5 separate regions of the Homo sapiens genome follow, and all the other regions are linked to region 2. Evidence: promoter capture Hi-C in 16 types of primary human blood cells and fetal thymus (Javierre and others, 2016). All regions are on one chromosome and are shown on one strand. The core of a region is centred on a gene start or on the middle of the fragment in contact, and the rest is flanking DNA. Distances in the headings are between cores, read along the strand shown.

What was found. Contacts are between HindIII fragments. The CHiCAGO score rates a contact against its expected background, and 5 or more counts as called.
Region 1: a fragment that was not itself captured here is called in contact with the fragment with the promoter of JMJD1C-AS1 in region 2 in 10 of 17 cell types (M2 macrophages, naive CD8 T cells, M1 macrophages and 7 more); the score reaches 7.4 in M2 macrophages.
Region 3: a contact is called between a fragment that was not itself captured here and the fragment with the promoter of JMJD1C-AS1 in region 2, in 16 of 17 cell types (total CD8 T cells, total B cells, fetal thymus and 13 more). The highest score is 8.9, in total CD8 T cells.
Region 4: a contact is called between a fragment that was not itself captured here and the fragment with the promoter of JMJD1C-AS1 in region 2, in 1 of 17 cell types (erythroblasts). The highest score is 6.0, in erythroblasts.
Region 5: a fragment that was not itself captured here is called in contact with the fragment with the promoter of JMJD1C-AS1 in region 2 in 6 of 17 cell types (M1 macrophages, M0 macrophages, endothelial precursors and 3 more); the score reaches 8.4 in M1 macrophages.

What each region holds. Positions count from the first base shown.
Region 1 is chr10:63,635,143-63,640,278 of GRCh38, reverse strand. No RefSeq gene overlaps it. Among named protein-coding and RNA genes, the nearest start is that of REEP3, 120 kb to the right of the region's middle. RefSeq lists a silencer at 3,111-3,210. The HindIII fragment of the contact is 9,997 bases long and covers 1-5,136 here.
Region 2 is chr10:63,463,369-63,467,773 of GRCh38, reverse strand. JMJD1C-AS1 (JMJD1C antisense RNA 1) reads right to left here and starts at 2,545. Exons shown (of 1, transcript NR_027182.1): 1 at 1,211-2,545. JMJD1C (jumonji domain containing 1C) reads left to right here and starts at 1,797. Exons shown (of 26, transcript NM_032776.3): 1 at 1,797-2,279. The coding sequence starts at 2,112. RefSeq lists enhancers at 1,335-1,384, 1,835-2,004, 2,085-2,154, 1,776-2,565 and silencers at 1,655-1,804, 2,345-2,684. The HindIII fragment of the contact is 1,793 bases long and covers 1,562-3,354 here.
Region 3 is chr10:63,274,197-63,278,959 of GRCh38, reverse strand. All of the region lies in intron 2 of JMJD1C (jumonji domain containing 1C), which reads left to right. Among named protein-coding and RNA genes, the nearest start is that of MIR1296, 96 kb to the left of the region's middle. The HindIII fragment of the contact is 781 bases long and covers 879-1,659 here.
Region 4 is chr10:63,615,498-63,620,164 of GRCh38, reverse strand. REEP3 (receptor accessory protein 3) reads right to left here. Exons shown (of 8, transcript NM_001001330.3): 7 at 365-510. The region is part of intron 1 of LOC105378329 (a long non-coding RNA gene); the gene reads left to right. Among named protein-coding and RNA genes, the nearest start is that of REEP3, 96 kb to the right of the region's middle. The HindIII fragment of the contact is 300 bases long and covers 2,537-2,836 here.
Region 5 is chr10:63,318,696-63,323,315 of GRCh38, reverse strand. The region is part of intron 2 of JMJD1C (jumonji domain containing 1C); the gene reads left to right. Among named protein-coding and RNA genes, the nearest start is that of MIR1296, 52 kb to the left of the region's middle. The HindIII fragment of the contact is 233 bases long and covers 1,223-1,455 here.

The DNA of each region.
Region 1 (5,136 bases), core at 2,179-4,678, 170 kb before region 2:
CAGCAAATATTTTCTAATTGTATTAATATTAACAAAATAACGAGTGCTTATCTAATGAACCTTAAGTGGTTCTGTAATAAATCACAAGAGATGTCTTTGATTTATAAATGTGTTAATATTTTCTCAAGGGTTTCCAGTTATTAAAAAGTTAATGTCCCAATATCAGAGTCGTAACTGTCTTTTTTGTATGACGCCATTTGTACCCTAAAAGTTTTTTTTTTTTTTTGAGACGGAGTCTCACTCTCGCCCAGTCTGGAGTGCAGTGGCGCCATCTCGGCTCACTGCAAACTCCGCCTTCCGGGTTCACACCATTCTCCTGCCTCAGCCTCCCGAGTAGCTGGAACTACAGGCGCCCACCATCACGCCCAGCTAATTTTTTTTGTATTTTTAGTAGAGACGGGGTTTCACTGTGTTAGCCAGGATGGTCTCGATCTCCTGACCTCGTGATCCGCCCGCCTCAGCCTCCCAAAAGTGCTGGGATTACAGGCGTGAGCCACCGCGCCTGGCTCTAAAAGTTTTATATTCAAAATAATTCTTAGAAAAGTTAGGATAGTGTTGATTCTGTTCCTCTAATAGAAACTTGATGTGTTTTCATGATATTAATATAGATTTACTCTAATTTCATTATGACTATACAAGCATTCATTATTTAGTAGCTTAATTTTTTTGTTTAAATATGCTGTTGTCGTTTTAATAGGTCTTGGTGATTTTAAATATCAGCTCCTGCTATTGTTTTCAAATTCTAGTCTTGACCGTGTGATTTTTTTTTTTTAAACACAGTATTTTTATCAACTACCATGGAAAGTTCATATTTCATAGGCTGACTGGGAGAAAACAGTAATTTGTGATGCTAATACATCAATTTACTTATAATAGAGTAAAAATATTATATTGGTATTTATAGAATCACAAAATAAACAATTTTTGTTAAGCTCAATTAATATAGGACAAATTTTGTCTAGTTTTAGGCTATGATGTAGCAAACAGTTTATTATAACTTTAAATTTTCTCTTCCAATATAACAAAGCAAATGTTAACAGTTGCAATTACGATTTTTAGATTGTTATCTAAGTTTATTTATTATTAGGTAATTGTATTTAAAACAAAGCAGTAAAATATATTGGGAAAGGGTTATGTTTATAGAGGGCTTCTTAATGTGTTATATTTCTGAAATGTAAACATACCTTTTTTCATGCTTAAGTAGAAAAGAAATAAAATTAAAAAATAAAAAAATTATTGTAAAGTGCATTTATCAAATTGAACCATTTGGGTGGTCTTGACACACTTTTGGTTGAGTATTAACTTCAGTGTAGTAACTGTTAAAGTACAATTTTTATTTAAGATATGCCTCTGAGATTTCAAAAACATGTACATATGTTCATAGAAAAAATATGGCCAGGATATATTCCAAAATGTTAATAGAAGTTTTTTCCTCAAGGAAAGTGATTTTTATTTCCTTTTTCATATTTTCTGTATTTTCCAAATTTCCTATAGTAAGTATATTACTTTTGAATAATAAACCAATAGGCTGGGTGCAGTGGCTCACGCCTATAATCCCAGCACTATGGGAGGTTGAGGTGGGAGGATCACCTGAGGTCAGGAGTTCAAGACCAGCCTGGCCAACATGGCGAAACCCCATCTCCACTAAAAATACAAAAATTAGCCGGGTGTGGTGGTGTGTGCCTGTAATACCAGCTACTTGGGAGGCTGAGGCACAATAATCACTTGAACCCGGGAGGCAGAAGTTGCAGTGAGCTGAAATTGTGCCACTGCACTCCAGCCTGGGTGACACAGCAAGACTCTGTATCAAAAATAAAAATAAAAAGAAACCAATAAATGCTAACAAAGAACTTGAGAGGAATGACCATCTGATTCAATTGGTAAAACTTCTCTTTAATAAGAGGACTGGAAAGCAGGCAAGGAGAGATCTTAGAGTGTATCCTGGAGTTTAAGGAGAGCTAGTGAAAGATTTGAGTCTGGCAAAGATCACCGTAGGTGCAGTGTAAAGAATGGATTAGAAGGGAGTAAGTGAGAGGTACAAAGTCCTCTTAGTAGGCGTTTGCAAGAATCTGAAGGAAAAAACTCTGAGGTCTTCGTTTATATTGAGAAACAAACCTTGTGTACTTTCTGAGATCTCCAGAGTGCCTGTTGCTTTACTTTTGAAGTTGGAACAAGTACCACACCTTGAGCTTGGGATCTGCCTTCCTGAGAGCCGCCAAGCGGCCAGATGACACAATCCAATTCAGGGGTGTTTATCTCTCCATGGGGTAAACCTTCACCAATGGCAAATGGATCCAGGAGAGAGACAGGAAGACACACTCACTCTTTTTTCTCATGTGGAATAGTCCAAGATGGAGTTCTTCCTTGTTAACCCTTCCAGGGACGTCCCATGCCTGCTGAGTGACCTGTTGTATGACTGCACAACAGTAAACAGTATAACAGTGCATCTCACTGTGTCCCATCTTCCCCTCCTCTTCCCCCTCCTTAGCAGACTGCTTTGTGCCCTGCTTTCTACAGTAGCTGGGCTTACACCACTTTTACCAACATAGTGGCACCAGGAGCGAGTGAAGAGGAGAACAAAACTTCAAGAGATATTTGGAAGGTAGTATTGGCACCAGTTTGGTGGCTGACCTAATGTGGGGAGTGAATGAGGGGGGTATATTTAAGACGACGCCTAGGTTTCTTTTTCTTTCTTTTCTTTTTTCTTTTCTTTTTTTTGAGACGGAGTCACTCTGTTGCCCAGGCTGGAGTACAGTGGCACGATCTTGGCTCACTGCAGCCTCTGCCTCCCAGGTTTAAGCGATTCTCCTGCCTCAGCCTCCCGAGTAGCTAGGATTACAGGTATGTACCACCACACCCAGCTAATTTTTGTAATTTTACTAGAGACGGGGTTTCACCATGTTGGCCAGGCTGGTCTCGAACTCCTGACCTCAGGTGATCCTCCCACCTCGGCCTCCCAAAGTGCTGGGATTACAGGCGTGAGCTACTGTGCCTGGCCCAACTCCTAGTTTCTAACTTGGACAACTAAGTGGCTAGTACTAGCACAATTCCTAGCACATATTAAGCCCTCAGGGAATATTTACTGGATGAATAAATGCATGACTTATGGGACCATAACTAAGGTAAAGACTGCAGAAGGTGTTTATTATTGAATCATATGTAGAATACCTCAAGGAGGTTTCACAAACACTAGTTGGAGGTGTTTGCAGTCCTTTCTAAAGAGGCATTCATACAGTTATATATGAACGAGTCAAGGCCCTAGAAAGAGAAGTGAAAAGCTGAGCCTAGAAGGGTGCTGACAGCCTGTCCACAGTTCAAACAGGTTTCATTCTTGTTCAACCCGAATATGGACCTAATCTGTTCCAAATAAGCTGAGTTTAAACTATTTCAATTGTCCATGATTCACAAAGCATCCCGGCCCAGTTCACATAGTGCTAAATCTAGAACCTCTAATTTCTGAGCTATTTTCATTTTACGAAAACCACAGAAAAACAGAGCTAAAAAGCCTTCCAAAGGTTATCTGGCCCACTCCCCTAGTTCAGGAATGATTTGGTACACAGGTTTAGCAAGATCACTGGTATTTATTTTTCTGTAGAGCTGACTGACACTCAACTACCAAATAACAATATTATGTTATGGAAATGCCAGCCAAGAAAAGCCTACAGAATTAAAAAGGAAGAAACATCTTTTTTTCAACTATAATTGGGTGGTGTCCCCTGAAGGTACAGTTTTTTGCAAAGTTAGGGATATTTTGGCTTAAATGGAATTTATGGCTAAGCAAAAATGCTAGACTAGCAATGGTTATAAAATAATTATTGTACTTGGTGCTAAAACTAAAATTACTGGTCTAAAAGCATGATGAAAATTCCAATGCCAGTCACTTCAGAGTAGCATCTTTTTTTTTTTTAGATGGAGTCACGCTCTATCGCCCAGGCTGGAGTGCAGTGGCGCGATCTTGGCTCACTGCAAGCTCCGCCTCCTGGGTTCACGCCATTCTCCTGCCTCAGCCTCCCGAGTAGCTGGGACTACAGGCGCCCGCCACCACACCTGGCTAATTTTTTTGTAGTTTTAGTAGAGACGGGGTTTCATCATTTTAGCCAGGATGGTCTGAATCTCCTGACCTCGTGATCCACCCACCTCGGCCTCCCAAAGTGCTGGGCAGAGTAGTATCTTATAAGTACTCAAGTTATAAAGTCCCCAAGAAAGGGGAGAACCAAGTACAGCCAAATAGGTTTGCTTTAAAAATACTCAGACATGGCTTACTATGTTCTAGGCACTGTTCTAAGATATTTATATTATTAATTTAATCCTTATAACAATCCTATAGAGGTAGTACTATTATTAGCCTCATTTCATGGATGAAGAAACTGAGGCATTGAAAGCGTAAGTAACTTCCCCAAGGTCAGACACTAACGTGGTGAATCCAGGACTCAAACTCATTACGGAACTTCTCTGCATGTAAGGGCCATGCTGTTCAAACTGTCAGCATCTTTAAACACCCAGCATGGCACATTGATCATACTGTGAATAGCACAGGGGAACTAAGAGATAAAGTAGATTCACATCTCCCATCTCATACTTGTTCTAGTGCATACATTTACTGAGCAAAATAGTAAACACACTTCCTCACACTATTTAAATTGTTCTCATTCTTTCTCTGTCACTGAGTGACCGTAGTTTGATTTGCATATTTATTGGGTGCCTTTTCTATGACAGGTACAGTTTTGGACTGGAAGTTCCTTGTTGAACAAGATTGACCAAGTCCCTACACTCATAGAACATGCATTCTAGAGGTAAAGCAAACAATAATCAAGTAAACAGGTAAACAGGATATTTGATAAGAGATGTGAAGGTGAATAAAGTAGGGCAATTGGTTAGGGAACGGCTACGGCTACGGTGCTTCATTTATATTAGGGGTGGTGATGAGGGAAGTCCTCTCTGAGGCAACATTTGAGCAGAGACCTGAGTGAGGTAAGAGAGAAAGCCATGTGACGGTCTGGGGGTTGAAAACAGAGGAAACAGCAAATGCAAGACCCTAAAGCAGTAGTCCGCTTCATATTTCTGAGGAACAGTGAGAAGGCCAGTTCCTGGAGAGGAATGAACAGGGAAGAAAGTGATAGAGGATGAGGTGAGAAG
Region 2 (4,405 bases), core at 1,296-3,795:
TCCCTACTCTTTTATCCTTACATATGTTGAATTATTGTCACCAAGTCACTTTACTGGTTCCTTAATCTACACTGATTTTAGAAATCTTCATCTGTAATTCTTAAGATAATTTGCTAAGTATTATACAGTGTACACTGAAAAAGTGGACTTGGAAATAAAATTGCCCAAGCAAAATTTTTTCTCTCAACTTGCCGATATGCATTTTTGGGTATGTTTTGCTGTTTTAATTTATTACAGGTTTTTTGTTTGTTTGTTTGTTTTCGGGGGGACTGAGTTTTGCTCTTGTTGACCAGGTTGGAGTGCAGTGGCACGATCCCGGCTCACTGCAACCTCCAGCTCCCAGGTTCAAGTGATTCTCCTGCTGCCTCCTGAGTAGCTGGGATTACAGGCATGCTCCACCATGCCCAGCTAATTTTTTGTATTTTTAGTAGAGACTAAAAATACATTTAGTTTCATCATGTTGGCCAGGCTGGTCTCGAACTCCCGACCTCAGGTGATCTGCCTCCTAAAGTGCAGGGATTACAGGCGTGAGGCACCGTGCCCAGCCTATTTATTACAGTTCTATGTTTGGTCTTTGGCAAAATTTGACCATGATTATTAAAATCCATCTTCCTTATAATTTTGGTTTCTAACCTATTAGCAGTGGTTGTGTTTCTCCACTTCAAATTGCCCAGCTTGAGTGTTCTAGAGAAAACAGATAAAAGCCTTATAGTTATTTTAAACATTCAGATTACTACTGTAAACTCTGTTAACTTTTTTTTTTTAAATAGAGGTTCAGGAAAATCTCAAGAAACTGAAATTTAGAATATTGGACTACCTATAAAAAAGCAGTATAAAGGGTGCCTGAAATCGAACTGCTCACTGACATTTGTAGGGAGGTTTGATTTATAACAAATAAGTTGATCAAAGAAGAGTGATTGTTCCAAGTTAGAGATCTTTGTGTGGGTTAGGGAGTCCGATTGTAATTGGATGGGAAATAAATATTTTTTTTCTTGAATTGTGATTGGCTAAAATCCTTTTCTTTCCATGGTATTTTCTAATAACTGAATCTGGGGATTTTCTCTGCTTTTATTATCTGACCAGTGTGTTTGAGCTGTGTACCAGTACTAAAAGTACTAAGACTGTCGCAGACACGGTTTGTGAAATTTCAGGACGTTGACAAGGGCCCGCCACGGAGCATTTGCTGTTCTTATAATAAAGCAGTGACGAATTTAAATCTGTGAATAGCTTAAACATGTAATTAGTATCACCACAAATGAGAAGAATGAAAGGATCACATTTTCCCCCTCGTTTTCCCTTGAAGTCATGAACGGTTGGTTCTGCTGTGACTTTGGGGCTTAGTTTTCAGTAGAAGTGTTGTCCTGCTCTGCTGCTGTTACTGCGGGACTGCTAATTCAGGCTAACTCAGGCGGCGGGCGCTGTGTGCTCTGAACATCAAACCGCGGGTGAGGCGTCAACCCAGGAGTTTATTTTGTGATCAGAGTGGAACCACTACACTTCACTTTCCCCTCACCTCCACCTCTGAGGGAGCAACGAATACAAAGGTAGACCCCCAAAAGCTTTGAATAGCTGTCGCCTACTTTCCCGCGGCCCTCTTCATTTTTTCGTCTCCCGCTGCCGCCGCCGCCGCCGCCTCTGGATCTGGACGGACCCAGTGGCCGCTGCCGCCTCCGCAGGGCCGGGCACTACTTTCCGTCTGCGGTGGTTCCGCCGACCCTCCCGCGGCTGCTGCCCCGCCCGCGCCGGCGGAAGGAGACGCGCTGCGCGCCGCCGCTGCCCGGGGAGGGAGACGGAGCAGTACTGGCCGCGGCGCGGTGGCGGCGGCTGGGCTGCCTCGGGGTCTTCGACGGCCGCGTTGGGTTTTGTTTCAGTTTTCTTGTGTGGCGCTGCAGCACAAGGCTGCGAATCTGGGAGTCCAAAGGAGTGTTTGCGGGGAGGGCCCGAGGTCGCTGTGTCCGGGGCAGAGCGGCCGGTTCGTCCCGAGTCTGCGCTCTTTCGGGTCCGCTGCTGTGTCCCGGTCCGCTCTCCTCAGCATGAGCGGCCGGTAGGAGTGAGGTTTCATCGGTTCCCTCGCACTGGAGGAGGCAGCGGCCGCTTCGGCAGCGACAGCTATGGCGGTAGAGACGCGGGCAGAGCTGGTGGGTAAGCGGTTCCTGTGTGTGGCGGTCGGCGACGAGGCACGTTCGGAGCGCTGGGAGAGCGGACGCGGCTGGCGAAGCTGGCGAGCGGGGGTCATCCGAGCCGTGTCACACAGGGACAGCCGCAATCCGGACCTGGCGGTAAGAGAGTCAGCGCCCCCCTTTTCCCCTGCCGCGCCCGCACCCGGCTCTCGCAGACGTACCTTGCAGGCTTCCCTCTGGCGCCTCGCTCAGCCCGGCCAACTGGCGGTCACGCCCCTCTGCTGAACCCTTGGCGCGTTTGCCCGCATCCCTTGCCTGGGTCCCTGCGTCTCTCCGAGCGGCTTCCCCTGTGGAGGTGGTGTCGGAGCAGGACTCCCGGGATAGCCGCGGAGGCTGCCCTGGCCCCCATCCCGGAGGGGTCGACCGCGGCTCCCCGCTGTGGCGCCTGGGCGGCCACGGAGACCTCCCCGAAAGGCGGAGCCGCGAGTCCGGCGCCGCGCGGGCAGGTGGGGGTAGGGGGCGGACCACTCATGGCGACAGGCGGCCAGCTTCCCTGGTATCTCTTTTCTTGGAAAAGTCTTCATAGTGCTGTAGCTCGAGACTTAAAACTTATCCTGTAAGGTTGCTGAAGGGGAGGGAGAAAAGAAAAGAGACCTTCCCACACAGTCCGGGGATTCCTATGTGTTTTAGAGGCAGAGGCCGTGGTGGTGGCTGTGCCCGGATTCATCCTCTCCTTAATAGATGCTTGGCTTTCTAACCGTAAAGGATAAAAGTGAAAAATTTTGGTATGGAGGGTAATCTCTCTTTCTGTCCCCAATGTGCTTTTCTTGTTAGAAAGGTATAGTTCTTTGGAGTCAAGCTGTTTCTGGGTTTTATACGATTTTAAATAAGACGAAAAATGTTGTCAATTAAAATGTTAAATGCCATGCAGAATTGATTATCTTTTTTTTTTTTTGGTTTCTTACATGTGACGCTGCCAGTGCTTTCTTTGAGTAGCGTAGGTATGTGCATGATATTGAGCTGTAATATGCTCTGTTGTGTTCCAAGTACATTCTCACTGAGGGACAGCTTGAAGGTAAGGGGCGGAGTAGAGACAAGACATGGACTAGACTTCCAAAGGTTGATTTATGAATACGTAATCTGTGAAATTTATTTGTAATGCCCTGAGCCATTTACTTTTTCAATGAAAACTTCAAATTTAGGAAATTTTTTTCCCTTTGTGTGCATGAAAGCTTACAATTCCAAATTCATTGTAATATTTGTACAGGTATCTACCTAATATTTTTTACCTACCTATTTTAATAGTTTCTGAGTGTGTTTTTGTAAACTCGGGTTTTCCTCACTGTAGTCAATGATATGGTTAATGCGGCATGTATTAATATTGACTCGATATCGCAAAATAGGTGTGTTTTGCTGATAGGTATTTCTAACAGAAAATAGAGGTAGTTTTGAAGGTTTTGGCTGGTTATTTTCGTATAGAAATGTATAATCTTCCTTAAAAAGTATTGGTGATGTTAGTGGTTCTAAAAATTATGGCAGTTCAATTCAGTAACTATTTTTGTTTGTGTAAAAGGCTGAGGTAAGAGGATTGCTAGAGCCCAGGACTTATTAAGAGTCCAGCCTGGGCAACATAGGTGAGACCCCCTCATCTGTAAAAAAGGAAAAAAAAAATTTGTATATATAAATAACTTAATTGCTCTCTTAGTTGGGAATTTAAGTGATTAAAGAGTTAAGTTTGCATATGTTAGTAAGGTATTAAGCTGGATATTAAAAAATAAATTATCTATGGATGGTAGAGATTGACTGGAAAGAATAGGAGTTTCTTCAGGTGATAGAAATGTTTCCTATCCTGATTGTTGGTTACACAGATATATATATTTGTCAAAACTCGTTGAATTGATACTATCTTTGCGTTTCACCATATCTAAATTTTACCAAAAAAAGAAAAATGTATGTTGAACCATACCTATGTGAACCCTTGATGAGTTTTTTTAATCTGTCTTTATTTGAAAATTTGAATATTAATTTAGTTTTTTTAGCCTAGAATCTACCATTTTAGATTTATTCCCAGATTTTCTTACATTCACATTTCTTAAACGAAACTTGGAACAGTTTAGCATTAACATAATGTAATATTCCTGTTCGACTTTGATTACTGCAGAGTAGATTTTAAGTTACATGAAATTAGGCTAGGCACAGTGGCTCACGCCTGTAAACCCAACACTTTGGGAGACTGAGATGGGAAGATACTTGAGCGCAGGAGTTTTGAGACTAGCCTGGGCAAC
Region 3 (4,763 bases), core at 20-2,519, 190 kb after region 2:
TGTCATTTGTTAATTTGAAAATAGAGATAGCTTTCAAGCGATAATGAGTATATAAGACCAGAAATGAATGAATAACATATCACAGGTTAATAACAGTACTATTTTTTTTTTTTTTTTTTGAGATGGGAGTTTTGCTCTTGTTGTCCAGGCTGGAGTGCAATGGCACAATATCAGCTCACCGCAACCTCTGCCTCCTGGGTTCCAGCGATTCTCCTGCCTCAGCTTCCCAAGTAGCTGGGATTACAGGCATGTGTCACCATGCCTGACTAATTTTGTATTTTTAGTAGAGACAGGATTTCTCCATGTTGGTCAGGCTGGTCTTGAACTCCCGACTTCGGCCTCCTAAAGGTGCTGGGATCACACGCTCGGCAACAGTACTACTAATCAGTACTCTTTTTTTTGTTTGTTTGTTTGTTTGCTTGCTTTTGATTTTTTTGGAGATGGAGTCTCGTCTGTCGCCCAGGCCAGAGTGCAGTGGCGTAATCTCAGCTCACTGCAGCCTTTGCCTCCTGGGTTCAAGCGATTCCTGCCTCAGCCTCCCAAGTAGCTGGGACTACAGGCATGCGCTACCACACCCGGCTAATTTTATTATTATTATTATTATTATTATTATTCTCTTTTAATTGTTGTATTTTTAGTAGAGACAGGGTTTTACCATGTTGGTAAGGCTGGTCTCAAACTCCCAACCTCAAGTGATCTGCCTACCTCAACTTCCCAAAGTGCTGGGATTACAGCTGTGAGCCACTGTGCCTGGCCTATTAATCAGTACTCTTTAACCCACTGCAGATATGTAATTATCATCCAGCCTGTATTTCATTGACTTACCTATTGTAGGTTGTCTTGATAAAAGTTTTGTTTAAGTCAAGTTCCTTAAAGCTTAGTTTCAAATCTTATTAACCTAATAACTTTTGTTTTTATTAAAATGCAGGCTGGGTACAGTGGCTAATGCCTGTAATCCCAGCACTTTGGGAGGTCGAGGTGGGCAGATAACCTGAGGTAGTTGGAGACCAGCCTGGCCAACATGGCGAAACCCCATCTCTACTAAAAATAGAAAAGTTAGACAGGCGTGGTGGCGCACACCTGTAATCCCAGCTACTCGGGAGGCTGAGGCAGGAGAATCTTTTGAACCAAGAGGCAGAGGTTTCAGTGAGCCAAGATCACAAGATTGCACTCCAGCCTGGGAGACAGAGCAAGACTCTGTCTCAAAAAAAAAAAAAAAAAAAAAAAAGAAATGCAAATTACTCTCAATGAATATATTTTGCTCTTACTTGGTCAATTTGTTTTTTAAAAATTTTCATTATACTGATTATCCATTGTTGGCTCAAGATACCCCACCCAAAATATTCTGGTAAGAGACCAGAATATACCATCCCCAAAATATCTTTTTTTGCCATGTTTTGAGCTAGTTATTCTGAGAATCTGCAGACACAGGAGTAATTTTGAAAAGCTGCCCTTTTGTAAAAGAAATTTACCCATCTATAAAGGAGATCTACTTTAGTAAAAGTTACCTGTATCAGGGAAAGGGCTGCTGCAGACAACTGTTATTACCTGAGAGACTTTAGTCTGCATAACAAGACTATCTTTATTCATCATGTATTTCCTCCTCTCACTCCATTTTGTATAACTTGTGTAGACACCAACCCTTAAAAGCCCCAAGCTTCTGGGAGTCTCGGTGGCTCAGGCCGGTTGCCCTGGCACTCGGGGAGGCGAGGCTACACATTCGAGGCCAACCTGGTCAACATTGATTAAAAAAAATAAAAAAATAGAGATTACTATTTTGGCCAGGCACGGTGGCTCATGCCTGTAATCCCAGCACTTTGAGAGGCCGAGGCGGGCGGATCACGAGGTCAGGAGATCGAGACCATCCTGGCTAACACGGTGAAACCCTGTCTCTACTAAAAATACAAAAACTTAGCTGGGCGTGGTGGTGGGTGCCCGTAGTCCCAGCTACTCGGGAGGCTGAGGCAGGAGAATGGCATGAACCCGGGAGGCAGAGTTCATGAGCCGAGATCTTGCCACTGCACTCCAGCCTGGGCGACAGAGCGAGACTCTCTCTCAAAAAAAAAAAAAAAAAAGCCCCAAGCTTCTATTCCTTCCATAGCTTCAGATGCTGTATAAGCTTCAATATCTCACTCTTCAGTGAGTCTCATATTTTGTGGGACTACTGTTAATTACATACGTAATTAAAATTGGTTTCCTGGTAGGGTGCCATGGCTCAAGTCTGTAATCCCAGCACTGGGAGGTTGAGGAGGGTGGATCACCTGAGGTCAGGAGACCACCCTGGCCAATATGGCGAATCCCTGTCCCTACTAAAAATACAAAGATTAGCTGGGGCGTAGTGGTGGTGGGCACCTGTAATCCCCATGCCTGCCTCAGCCTCCTGAGTAGCTGGGATCACAGGCACCTGCCACCATGTCCAGCTGATTTTTGTATTTTTAGTAGAGTTGGGGTTTCACCATGTTGGCCAGGCTGGTCTTTTTTTTTTTTTTTTTTTGAGACGGAATCTCACTCTGTCTCCCAGGCTGGAGTGCAGTGGCGGGGTCTCGGCTCACTGGAAGTTCCGCCTCCCAGGTTCACGCCATTCTCCTGCTTCAGCCTCCGGAGTAGCTGGGACTACAGGCACCCGCCACCCCGCCCAGCTAACTTTTTGTATTTTTAGTAGAGACGGGGTTTCACCGTTTTAGCCAGGATGGTCTCGATCTCCTGACCTTGTGATCTGCCCGCCTCGGCCTCCCAAAGTGCTGGGATTACAGGTATGAGCCACCGTGCCCGGCCTCAACTGCCTATCTCTAATGTCTTGGCAATGCCATGATTTTTTTCAAAGACTACCAGTTAATGGCTCTGAGCTTGTACCTACCAATTTAGTATTCTAACATATAATTTAATCTATGATTTTTAATTACTAAAAGCATGAAGACGTTCATAGTATTGTTTATAATACAAAATTGCAAGCAGCTTTAGCATTCAACATTAAGAGAATGAATAATAAAACTAATGCTTTAATAAACTCATGCCTGTTTTTTAAGTCGTTAAAATGATGGCAATGTAAGAACATGAGAAGATTATTAAATAAAATGAGCAACTTAAAATTTGCGTGTATCCTGAATGTTGATAACTAATATGGTTGTGAGGAAAAAAAGGGCTGAAAGTGCACTTAAATAGTTAACTGGCTGGGTTCACTAAGGATAAGAATATGGGATCTTTTTCATGCATTTATTTTACAAATTTTCTCAAATATAATTATGTTACTTGTTAAGAAAACTATTTTTGGAAACAAAAAGGATCCTCTACATATCATTTAATCTTTAGTTTTTTTTAATCTCTAGTTCATATTTTCCATAGTAAAATCACTTTTTCTTGACAGAAATAAAAGTAATTAAATAAGCTTTTCTTTCTTCCAAATATTGGTGTTTTATCATCTTTCCCAATGGTCTTTTTCTGAACATAGCTTTAAAAACCCTTTATGTTGAATTGATTTTTCCTCCTAATCCTGCTTATTTCTCCTTTGTGAAAGGTGACGTATGTCAGTAAAGCAAATTAAAAATACATAAACTTATGTCATACTTCTTTTCCTTTGTACTTTGTGACTTTGCAGTTTCTTCTAGACAGGCTTCATTTTTCTCCATTCAGCGTTCAAAGTTTAAAGTTTAATTCAGCAGATGGCAAAACACTTTGCTCTCTGCCACCCATGCCAACCAGCATGAAAATAAATACAATGCTTTCACACCATCTTATGATGTAAAAATCATTCAGCTGTGAATTAGGAAATCCAAGTTCTGGTCCTAGCACTTCTATAAACAAGATTTTTGACAAACAAAGTCACTTAGACTCGAGTGTCCATTTTTTTATCTGTAAAAATGAGAGTATTTCTAACATTAAAGTAATAGGACTAAATTTTGTATTTCTTTTTTAAAAATACCTATATTTTTAGAGACAGCATCTTGCAATGTTGCCCAGGCTGGTCTCCTACTCCCTGGGCTCAAGCCATCCTCTCAGCTCACTTTCTAAGTAGCTGGGATTCCAGGGGCATGCCACTATGTCTGCTTGTATGATTGCTGCTTGATTTGTATGATTACTGTATTCCGTTCTCTTATAAAAGACTGAATACTCTGCTAGGGTAAAAATTTGGTTGTCTTTTCCTCACTATTGCATACCCTGGCCCAAAGCATGGTGCCTTGCACATAGAAGCCATTTTATACCTATTGATTGAATGAATGTGCTACAATGTTTGCTGGAGATAGGAGAGTTAAAAAAGTCTTAAGGTCCATATCTACTAGAAATCCTTGTAGAAATCATAGACTATTGAAGGTTTGAAACTGTGATACACAAGTTTTGCATTGCTTAGAAGATCTGCATGGAGTTATTAATGTTAAAAACTTTTTTGTTTTTTTTTTTGAGACTGAGTCTCGCTCTGTCACCCAGACTGGAGTGCAGTGGCACAATCTCAGCTCCCTGCAACCTCTGGCTCCTGGGCTGAAGCGATCCTCCCACCTCAGCCTCCTGAGTAGCTGGGACCACAGGTGCGTGCCACCACACCTGGCTATTTTTATTTATTCTTTGTAGAGACAGGGTTTCACCATGTTGCCCAGGCTGATCTAAACTCGTGGGCTCAAGTGATCCACCTGCCTCCGCCTCCCAGAGTGCTGGGATTACAGGCGTGAACCACTGCGTATGACCTACTGTTAAAAACTTAATCCTTTGGACATTACAATGATGTAGGAGTTACATTTTTATGTATTTTCATAGATTTTACAGTATGGCTT
Region 4 (4,667 bases), core at 1,437-3,936, 150 kb before region 2:
GGCCAGGTGTTCAAGACCAGCCTGGGCAACATGGTGAAACCCTGTCTCTACAAAAAATGAAAAAATTAGCCAGGTGCGGTGGCATGTGCCTGTAGTTCCAGCTACTTGGGAGATTGAGGTGGGAGGACTGCTTGAGCCCAGGAGTTTGAGTGAACTGTGATTACGCCACACTGCACTCCAATTTGGTTGACAAAGCAAAAAAGCTCTATCCCCAAAAACTAAAAAAAAAAAAAAAAAAAAAAAAAATCAAACTGCTGTTCTACCATTCCAATCCTTCATTTATGGATCATTAATATCCTAAATGATAACACAGCAGGGAAATCCTTCACTAATCATTAGGAAAACAGCTCTACACTTAACCAACCTCTTTGCGGCCTTTGGTGGTTTTCACAGATTTCATGCTTTGCGATCTTCGAAGCCCTTTGTGTGTTAACATCTCATTATCTGAATATGGCCCCTCTGCTTCTTCATCTGTTTTCTCATCTCCGTCTTTCAGTGGAATTCCATAACCTAAACAAGTTGTCAAAAACAGCATGTTTTGGTAAAAGGACACCAGTCAGCGCCGGCTCTTTGACCCATCTGTGTACAGTTCTTTGTATGGTTTGCATTTCCCCCAGTTACTCTTTTTGCATCTGGAATGTGCTCCATGCCCTTTATCATTAAGCTTTGCCTCGCACTATTCCAGGTGAAACTCATAACTCATTTCCTCCAGGAAATTTTCCCTGATCATTCTTATTTTTACTATGCATTTTTAAAAATAATTATAAAATAATTTATTTTTGAGTAGGTAACACACCATCTTGTTAAAAAATTCAAGAATATAAATAGATATAGAGCAAAAAGTCTCTTCCCACCTTTCCTCCTCTTCATGAATTCAACCCAAGCATTTGTGTTTTAGTCTGTCATTTGCACTTTTGCCTTGAATTAGGAATTAAGGCTTTTCCGTTCTATGTGTCGTATCTTTTGTCAAGACTGGGAATGGTAGGGTTTACTTAAGGCATTGAGGAAGACCCCAGGGGGCTAGAACTTTGGGCAAAATAAGGTCACTGGGGGCAGGTGATGAGGATGGGGATGTTAGCTGCTATTGCAGTTGCTGAGATAAAACCCAGCCAGGTAGGCTGCAGTAATTAGAAGTACCACAGACTGTGTGACAGATACTAGTCAAAGAAAATAGAATCAGGCAGATCAGTGAGAGATCACGCGAGTATGCTAGAAGGCTGTTATGTGTAGCTATAAAGACTTACTACGGGCCAATATGCAAACATCCACACAGTCAGGAAGTCTGAGAGCATCTTGAGGCTTGGCCTCAAGGACGAAAACTCTTCCAACCCTGAAGCTGAGGTTCTCAAACTTGAGCACGTCAGAGTTACCTTGAGAACCTGTTAATACAAGTTCTGACAACCCCAGAATTTCTGATTCAGCAGATTTGAGGTGGGGCTGAGAATCTGCATTTCTGACAAGTTCCCAGGTAATGCTTGTGCTCATGGTCTGTGGTCCACACTTTGAGAACCACTGCCTGAGGATGCTGGAGACAGCAAGACAGGGGCCCAAGTCTCAGACAACCAGAGTACTAAGTAGGTTATAAAGAAAGGGGTGAGATTAGAAATCCCCATGAAGAGGCCGGGCATGGTGGCTCACGCCTGTAATCCCAGCACTTTGGGAGGCCCAGGCGGGTGGATCATGAGGTCAGGAGATCAAGACCATCCTGGCTAACATGGTGAAACCCTGTCTCTACTGAAAATACAAAAAAAATTAGCCAAGCATGGAGGCAGGCGCCTGTAGTCCCAGCTACTCGGGAAGCTGGGGCAGGAGAATGGCATGAATCCGGGAGGCGGAGCTTGCAGTGAGCTGAGATCGCGCCACTGCACTCCAGCCTGGGTGACAGAGCGAGACTCCATCTCAAAAAAAAAAAAAAAAAAAAAAAAAAGAAGAAGGAAAGAAATCCCCATGAAGTTATAAATTCTCCTTTAATAAAAATAAGGAGCATAAGGAGCATAAATACTTAAATTGTCAGGTGAGGAGAAAGTGGAAGGACTTACAGCCAGGCGCAGTGGCTCACACCTGTAATCCCAGCACTTCGGGAGGCCAAGGTGGGCGGATCACCTGAGGTCAGGAGTTCGAGACCAGCCTGGCCAACATGGTGAAACACCCGACTCTACTAAAAACACAGAAATTAGCTGGGCGTGGTGGCAGGAGTCTGTAATCCCAGCTACTTGGGAGGCTGAGGCAGGAGAATCGCTTGAACCCAGGAGGTGGAGGTTGCAGTGAGCTGAGATTGCACCACTGCACTCCAGCTTGGGTGACAGAGCAAGACTCCATCTCTTTAAAAAAAAAAAAAAAAAAAAAAAAAAAGAGTAGAAGGATTTCCAGGCTTAGGAGAAGGCACGGGATAGATTCCGTGCATGTGATAAAAAATAAAACTGGGGTGGGCTTTGGTGGCTCATGCTGATAAAAAATAAAACTGGGGTGGGCTTTGGTGGCTCATGCCTGTAATGCCAGCACTTTGGGAGGTCAAGGCAGGTGGTTCGCTTAAGCTTAGGAGTTTGAGATCAGCCTGGGCAACATGGTAAAACCTTTTCTCTACAAAAAATACAAAAATTAGCCGGGTATGGTGTTGTGCACCTGTAGTCCCAGCTCCTCCAAAGGCTGAGGTAGGAGGATCACCTGAGCCTGGGAAGTCAAGGCTGCAGTGAGCTGTGATCATGCCACTGCATTATAGCCTGTTTCAAAAAATATACATATTAAAAAAATTGAATACATGTTTATTGGTCTGCTCTTCTAAGACACGAATAATTTGAGAAACACTAAGCAAACTACAAAGAGTTGTTAATAAGCTTGTTACTCTCATAATAACATAAGCAACTTGCATTGTATATTAGTCAGGTATAATTTTATGTTCTTAGACTTCTAGGCTAGAAGTCAGAGGAGATTTGGAAGTGGAATCAGTCCTTATTTAGGCCAAGATCCTTTGTTTTCTTGCAGTGGTCCAAGGAAGTGTGTGTGTTCCGGGTGGAAGAAACAGCATGCACAGAGGCAGTGAGGAGAGTAGCTAGGGCTTGGGGATTGCTTGGAAGAACTGCAAGGAGGCCAGTGTGGCAAGGAAGGGGATGGATCAGTGGTCCTGGAAAAAAGCTCCTGAAGCAATATTAAGTGTGGAAAAAAAAAATGTACATATAGAAACAAACAAAGGAAAAACATAAATGAAAGGATTATATCTCATGGAAGTGAGCTTTCAGGTGATTTTAAATTTTTTCATTTTTTCTTTTTTTACTTGCCAAATTCTTATTTTTAAAAAATGTTTATTTTATAATTGAGAAAAATAAACCAGGCTTCAGGTTTAGGTTGTCATTTCTAGATTTTTTTTCCTATTGATGTTTGCTTATATAGTATTCCTGATCCTAATATGGTAAAACAGAATGAGGAATCAAGGAAAAAGTCAGAAAGGAAGTAACTGTGATAAACAATTTCTCTAAGGCCACAAATGTAGCATAAGAGCACAGTTCAACAAACCCAGTCCTTGCTATTTTAACTGCCTCTCATTTTGTATGATTAGGAATTGGAATTTCATTCAAAAGCTGATTATACATCTTATTCTTTTCTTTTTTCCTAATTCCAGCTAAAAAAAATCTTATTAGCTATCTAATTATAGCTTCAGGAAAAGTGATGGATTGATTCATTACTCCACAAGTATTTTTAAAATTCTATTATGAATGAGGCAGTGTGCTGAATTATGAGGATACAAGGATGAAAAAGACACAGCTGTCTTTTTCTACCCTCAAAAAATTTAGAGTCCAATAGGGGAAACAGACGGTAATGGGCATTATGATACTGTAATAAATACTATAAGCTAATGACAAGGTGCCAGAGGGCATACAGTAAGAGAATGTAATCAGCATGGGGTGGGTTGGAAAGGGTGGGTTATGAGAGAAGGCCTTGTAGGAGGTGGTGGCTAAGCTAAATCCTCAAAGAGTCATGATTCTGTATGGCTAGCACTTGATGGAGTGGGAGAACAAGGCTGGGGAGTTAATACACCATGCTATCTAGTTTGGACTTCGTCAGAGAGCAATGAAGCCTCTGGAGGCTCGGGGAGAGTATTGAAATGTTTTAAGCAGAAGAGTAACATGATTAGAGTTGGGTTTTGTAAAATATTCTTCTTGCGCTTTGGAAAATGAATCAGAAATGGATAAGGCTGAGGGAAGGGAGCGTAAGTGGGGAGGTTACTGTAGTATAGCAGGTCAGAAATGACAGAGTCCACAGAGAGTGAGGACAGAGCAAGGAGCCAAATTTAGAATTTATTGGGAAATGAAATCCACAAGTTTAGGCTGGGTGTGGTGGCTCATGCCTGTAATCCCAGCACTTTGGGAGGCTGAGTGGGTGAATGACATGAGGCCAGTAGTTTGAGACCAGCCTGGCCAATATGGCAAAACCCCATCTCTACTTAAAAATACAAAACTTAGCTGGGTGTGGTGGCACGTGCCTGTAATCCCAGCTACTCGGGAGGCTGAGGCAGAGAATTGCTTGAACCTGGGAGGTGGAGGCTGCAGTGAGCTGAGATCGCGCCACTGCACTCCAGCCTGGGCGACAGAGTGAGACTCCACCTCAAAAAAAAAAAAAAAGTTTAATTTAGCAATTTATTAAACCAATCCTTGAATCAAAGAGAGAAGAGA
Region 5 (4,620 bases), core at 90-2,589, 140 kb after region 2:
CTGACCTCAAGTGATCTGTCTGCCTTGGCCTCCCAGAAGTGTTAGGATTACAAGTGTGAGCCACTGTACCCGGCACCACTGTTGTTTCTAGGCTTAATTAATTTGTTGTGGCCAACAGGCTTTTCCTTGTGTTTCAGCTTTAGCACTACCTGTCCATCATAGCTGTCATTACAGCTTTGTTGACTTTACTGTCTCGCATACTCTTACCCAGTGCTGCTTTGGTCTTGCCCAAGGCGGCAGTTCTTTCCTTTTCTCTCTTCTCTACTTTTTGTTCAACATTATCTAATTTTCATATATAGATCTATGTATGTATATGTTAAATTTTTATATATATTAAATACTTTTCCCAGCTCTGCCTCTGTATTTATGACTAGATACGTAAACAATTGTTAATATACATCAATATATATTAATTACATTAATATTAACATTTGATATAGATTCTGTTCTTTCCTCAACTGTGCCTTGACAAACTTAGGAAAAAAAAAAAAGTTTTTTTTTTTTTTTTTTTTTGAGATGGAATCTCACTCTGTTGCCCAGGCTGGAGTCCAGTGGTGCGATCTTGGCTCACTGCAACCTCTGCCTTCCAGGTTCAAGCAGTTCTCCTGCCTCAGCCTCCCTAGTAGCTGGGACTACAGGAGCGCGCCACTAATTTTTGTATTTTTAGTAGAGACGGGGTTTCACCATGTTGGTCAGGCTGGTCTTGAACTCCAGACCTTGTGATTCTCCCTCTTCGGCCTCCCAAAGTGCTGGGAGTACAGGTGTGAGCCACCGTGCCTGGCCAGAAAATTTTTTAACAATTCAAATAAGTGTAAAAAGTTAAACCCTATTCTATCTTAATTTCTTGCATTTTGTATTTTACAATTTAGCAGCTTTAAAATCATCGTACTGAGTCCCTTCCACCTAAGTCACTTTCCATCTCTTGCGCTCATAATATACTGCAGGTTGGCATATACCTTTTAACTAAGAGTTTAGAGGGGGATTTTGTCTTTGTAGAAATCTGAATTTTCCAGAGGAAAAAAATTCTGAAAATTTAGAGTCCTTAGGTGAGATCCTCAGTAAACTGACATCCACTCATTTTAATAATATTCTTTTCTCTTTTATGTAAATTGATAACCAAGGCATGTGCAACATTTGAAAAGAGCTTTCCCAACATGAGAGAGAATAAACATGTAGGAAAAAAAGAATAGCCAGGAAAATACAAGGAACTGTTTTGAAAGCTTTGGGGGAAAATCCTCTTAATATACTCAGATGAGAAGATATTTCATCATTACAATGAATGAACTGGTTTAGATTCCTTAAAAGACATTCAAGAAGTGTGACTTTTGGCTTCCTCACCCAAGGTCAGCTTCAGCAGTTAGAAGGGAAAACTAAATGTTCTGAGCAAATGGTGAGAAATCCCCTAGGTTGGTGGAAGAAAGGCTGTTTTGAACTGGTGTGTGGAATAGAGAAGCTTTGTCCCAGGTCAAGAGAGAGGGCATCCTCTTGGCTATCAGAAGAAAAAATAGGAAAGGAACTATTGAAGCTCTTCACGCCTTTGAAGCAAAGGTGCCTAACTCGCGTACACTTGTAAAGTATCAGACCTTTGATATTTTGAGGAGTCAATTCAGGATAGTGCAGAGGCCCTTTCCTTCTGAGTGGATTTAAAAAATGAACTTTTGCTTCCCTACCTCTTACCCAGACAGTTCTCAGTGCTAATACGCTATAGTTGGTAAGAGATGCAGGAAAAACCAAACCAAATTGTTTTTTCCACTGTCGACTCAACACAACACTTCTGACACCAGATGTGTTGGGGTATTTTCTTACACACCTAGCAGATCTCCAGCAGACATGAGCTGGATATCCTCCAACTGAATTATTTTTTCACGCTGTCTACCTACAGCTAGCGTCAGATCCCACTGATTGAGGACTCAATCTCACAAGACTGCCTCCCACTTCAGATGACAATCGCAAGTAGTAGGTTGTCACCTATACTTCTGACTGAGCAGCTATAAAATTCACTGATCAGCTATAGACCAGCTCCTTCTCATGTTCAATTAGTTTGCTAGAGCAATTCACAAAGGTCAGAGAAACACTTTACTTATTATGTTTACCGATTTATTACAAAGAATATTTTAAAGGATACAAATGAATAGCCAGATGAAGATACATGGGATGGGATCTGGAAGGGTCCAGAGAACAGGAACTTTCATCCCTGTGGAGTTTGTGTGTGCCACCCACCTGGCACGTGGATGTGTTCTTGTACACCAGTCTGGAACCTCATTCAAACTCTATTTTTAGGGGGTTTTATGGAGACTTCATTACATAGGCATCATTGATTATATAATTGGCCATTGTTGATCAACTCAATTCAGCCCCTCTCCTCTCCCTGGAGGTCTGGGGTGGGGCTATGAACTTTCCAACTCTCTAAACACATGGTTGGTTCCCTTGGTAACAAGCACCATCCTGGGGCTATCTAGAAGCCCACCAAGATTGCCTCATTAGAACAAAAGAGTCTTCTGTCACCTAGGAAATTCCTAGGGATTTAGGAGCTCGGTGTCAGGAACCAGGAGTCAAAGGACAAATATTAGAACAAAAGATTCTCCTAGTGCCTGTATCTACAAGGATTTTAGAAGCTGTATGTCAGGAAATGGAGACAAAAAACAAATATATATTTCATGTTATCACAATAGTCGAAGAAGAGTCTCCATTTAGATGCTTTAACATGTGAAAAAATAGTGAAGCTACTTTCCCAAGGAATTGTTTTGAGAAAAGATGAGAGATTGTAGTTTTCTGCTGCCTGGAATATTCCACCTTAGGTATTTTCCACCTGTATGTCTTGAGCTCAATGGGGCTGACAGTGATTGTGGGCTGACATCGTCTATATACATTGCTTAAATGTATTTTCCTAGAAGAAAATGAGCACACAGACCAAATAAAACATTCAAAGGAAAGAAAAATAATATACTGGATTACAGATGCCATTAGTAGTAGAAATACTAGATTAGACAAATGATGAATATAAAATTATCCTAATAAATGTATTAAAAATATTAGAGGAAGATAATATGAAATAAAATCTAAAAGAAAAAATTACTCAATATCAAAAACATAATACAAAATGTAAGATATGCTGGGCATGGTGGTTCACTCCTGTAATCCCAGCACTTTGGAAAGCTGAGGTAGGCGAATCACTTGAAGCCAGGAGTTCAAGACCAGCCTGGCCAACATGGTGAAACACCATCTCTACTAAAAATATAACAATTAGTTGAGTCAGGCATGGTGGCTAATGCCTGTAATCCAAGCGCTTTGGGAGGCTGAGGCGGGTGGATCACCTGAGGTCAGGAGTTTGAAACCAGCCTGGCCAACATGGTGAAACCCTGTCTCTACTAAAACTACAAAAAAATTAGCTGGGTGTGGTGGCATGTGCCTGTAATCCCAGCTACCCAGGAGGCTGAGGCAGGAGAATTGCTTGAACCTGGAGGTGGAGGTTGCAGTGAGCCAAGATAGCACCACTGCATTCCAGCCTGGGCAACAGAGCGAGACTCTGTCGTGGAGAAAACAAGCAAACAAACAAAAAGATGAATAACAGAATTGATCTATTTGAAGAACAAAATTGTTAATTGGAAGATTAAAGAGAATATTTCACGGGGATAAAAGGACAAGGAAATAGCAAATATAAAAGAAAAATTGACAGCTATCAAATACAGAAATAAAGGTATTGACATCCAGAAGATAGGAATCTAAGAAGGGAGATAATTTTTTTTAAGTGGAGAATAAATACTTAAAGGGATAAAAGGGATAGTTTTCTAGAATTAAAGTGAGAGAGAAAAGAGAGAGGTGAGAAATTTCAGATTAAAAGGAGTTCAGAGTCAAGAGAGAAGAAAGAAACACAACATACGTTAAAGTTAAAATATAAGACTGCCAGAGATAAAGAAAATGCTAAAGACTTGCAGAGATGAGGGAAAAAAAAAAGTCACAAACAAATGAAGAAGAATTAGATTGGCATCACACTTTTTCAGCAGTAACTCTTGAATGTAAGCAGAAAATGTATTAGCTTTTTTTTTTTTTTTTTTTTTTTAGATGGAGTCTCGCTCTGTCGCCCAGGCTGGAGTGCAGTGGCGCAGTCTCAGCACACTGCAAGCTCCGCCTCCGGGGTTCACGCCATTCTCCTGCCTCAGCCTCCCGAGTAGCTGGGACTACAGGCCACCACCACACCCGGCTAATTTTTTGTATTTTTAGTAGAGACGGTGTTTCACCATGTTAGTCAGGATGGTGTCGATCTCCTGGCCTTGTGATCCGCCCACCTTGGCCTCCCAGAGTGCTGGGAGCATTTTTTAAGGTTTGAAGAGAACCTAGATTTTAAATCCCACCAAGTTGTCATTCAGATATTAAAGCCATAATAAAAATTTTTATCAAGAATACAGATACCAGAAGGTTTTTCAAACCTTAATATTAAAAATAAGTTTAGATGAGGCACTGAAATGAGCAGACCCATTTAAGGAAACGTTGAAAGAGATAAATGAAGTGAAGATGATGAAATACATTGGTTAGTGAAGCTAACCAAAGTATAGAGAAAATATGTCCATATTAACCCTGAACCTAAAAGTCTAGGTCAGTACTTCTCAAATTATCTATGCC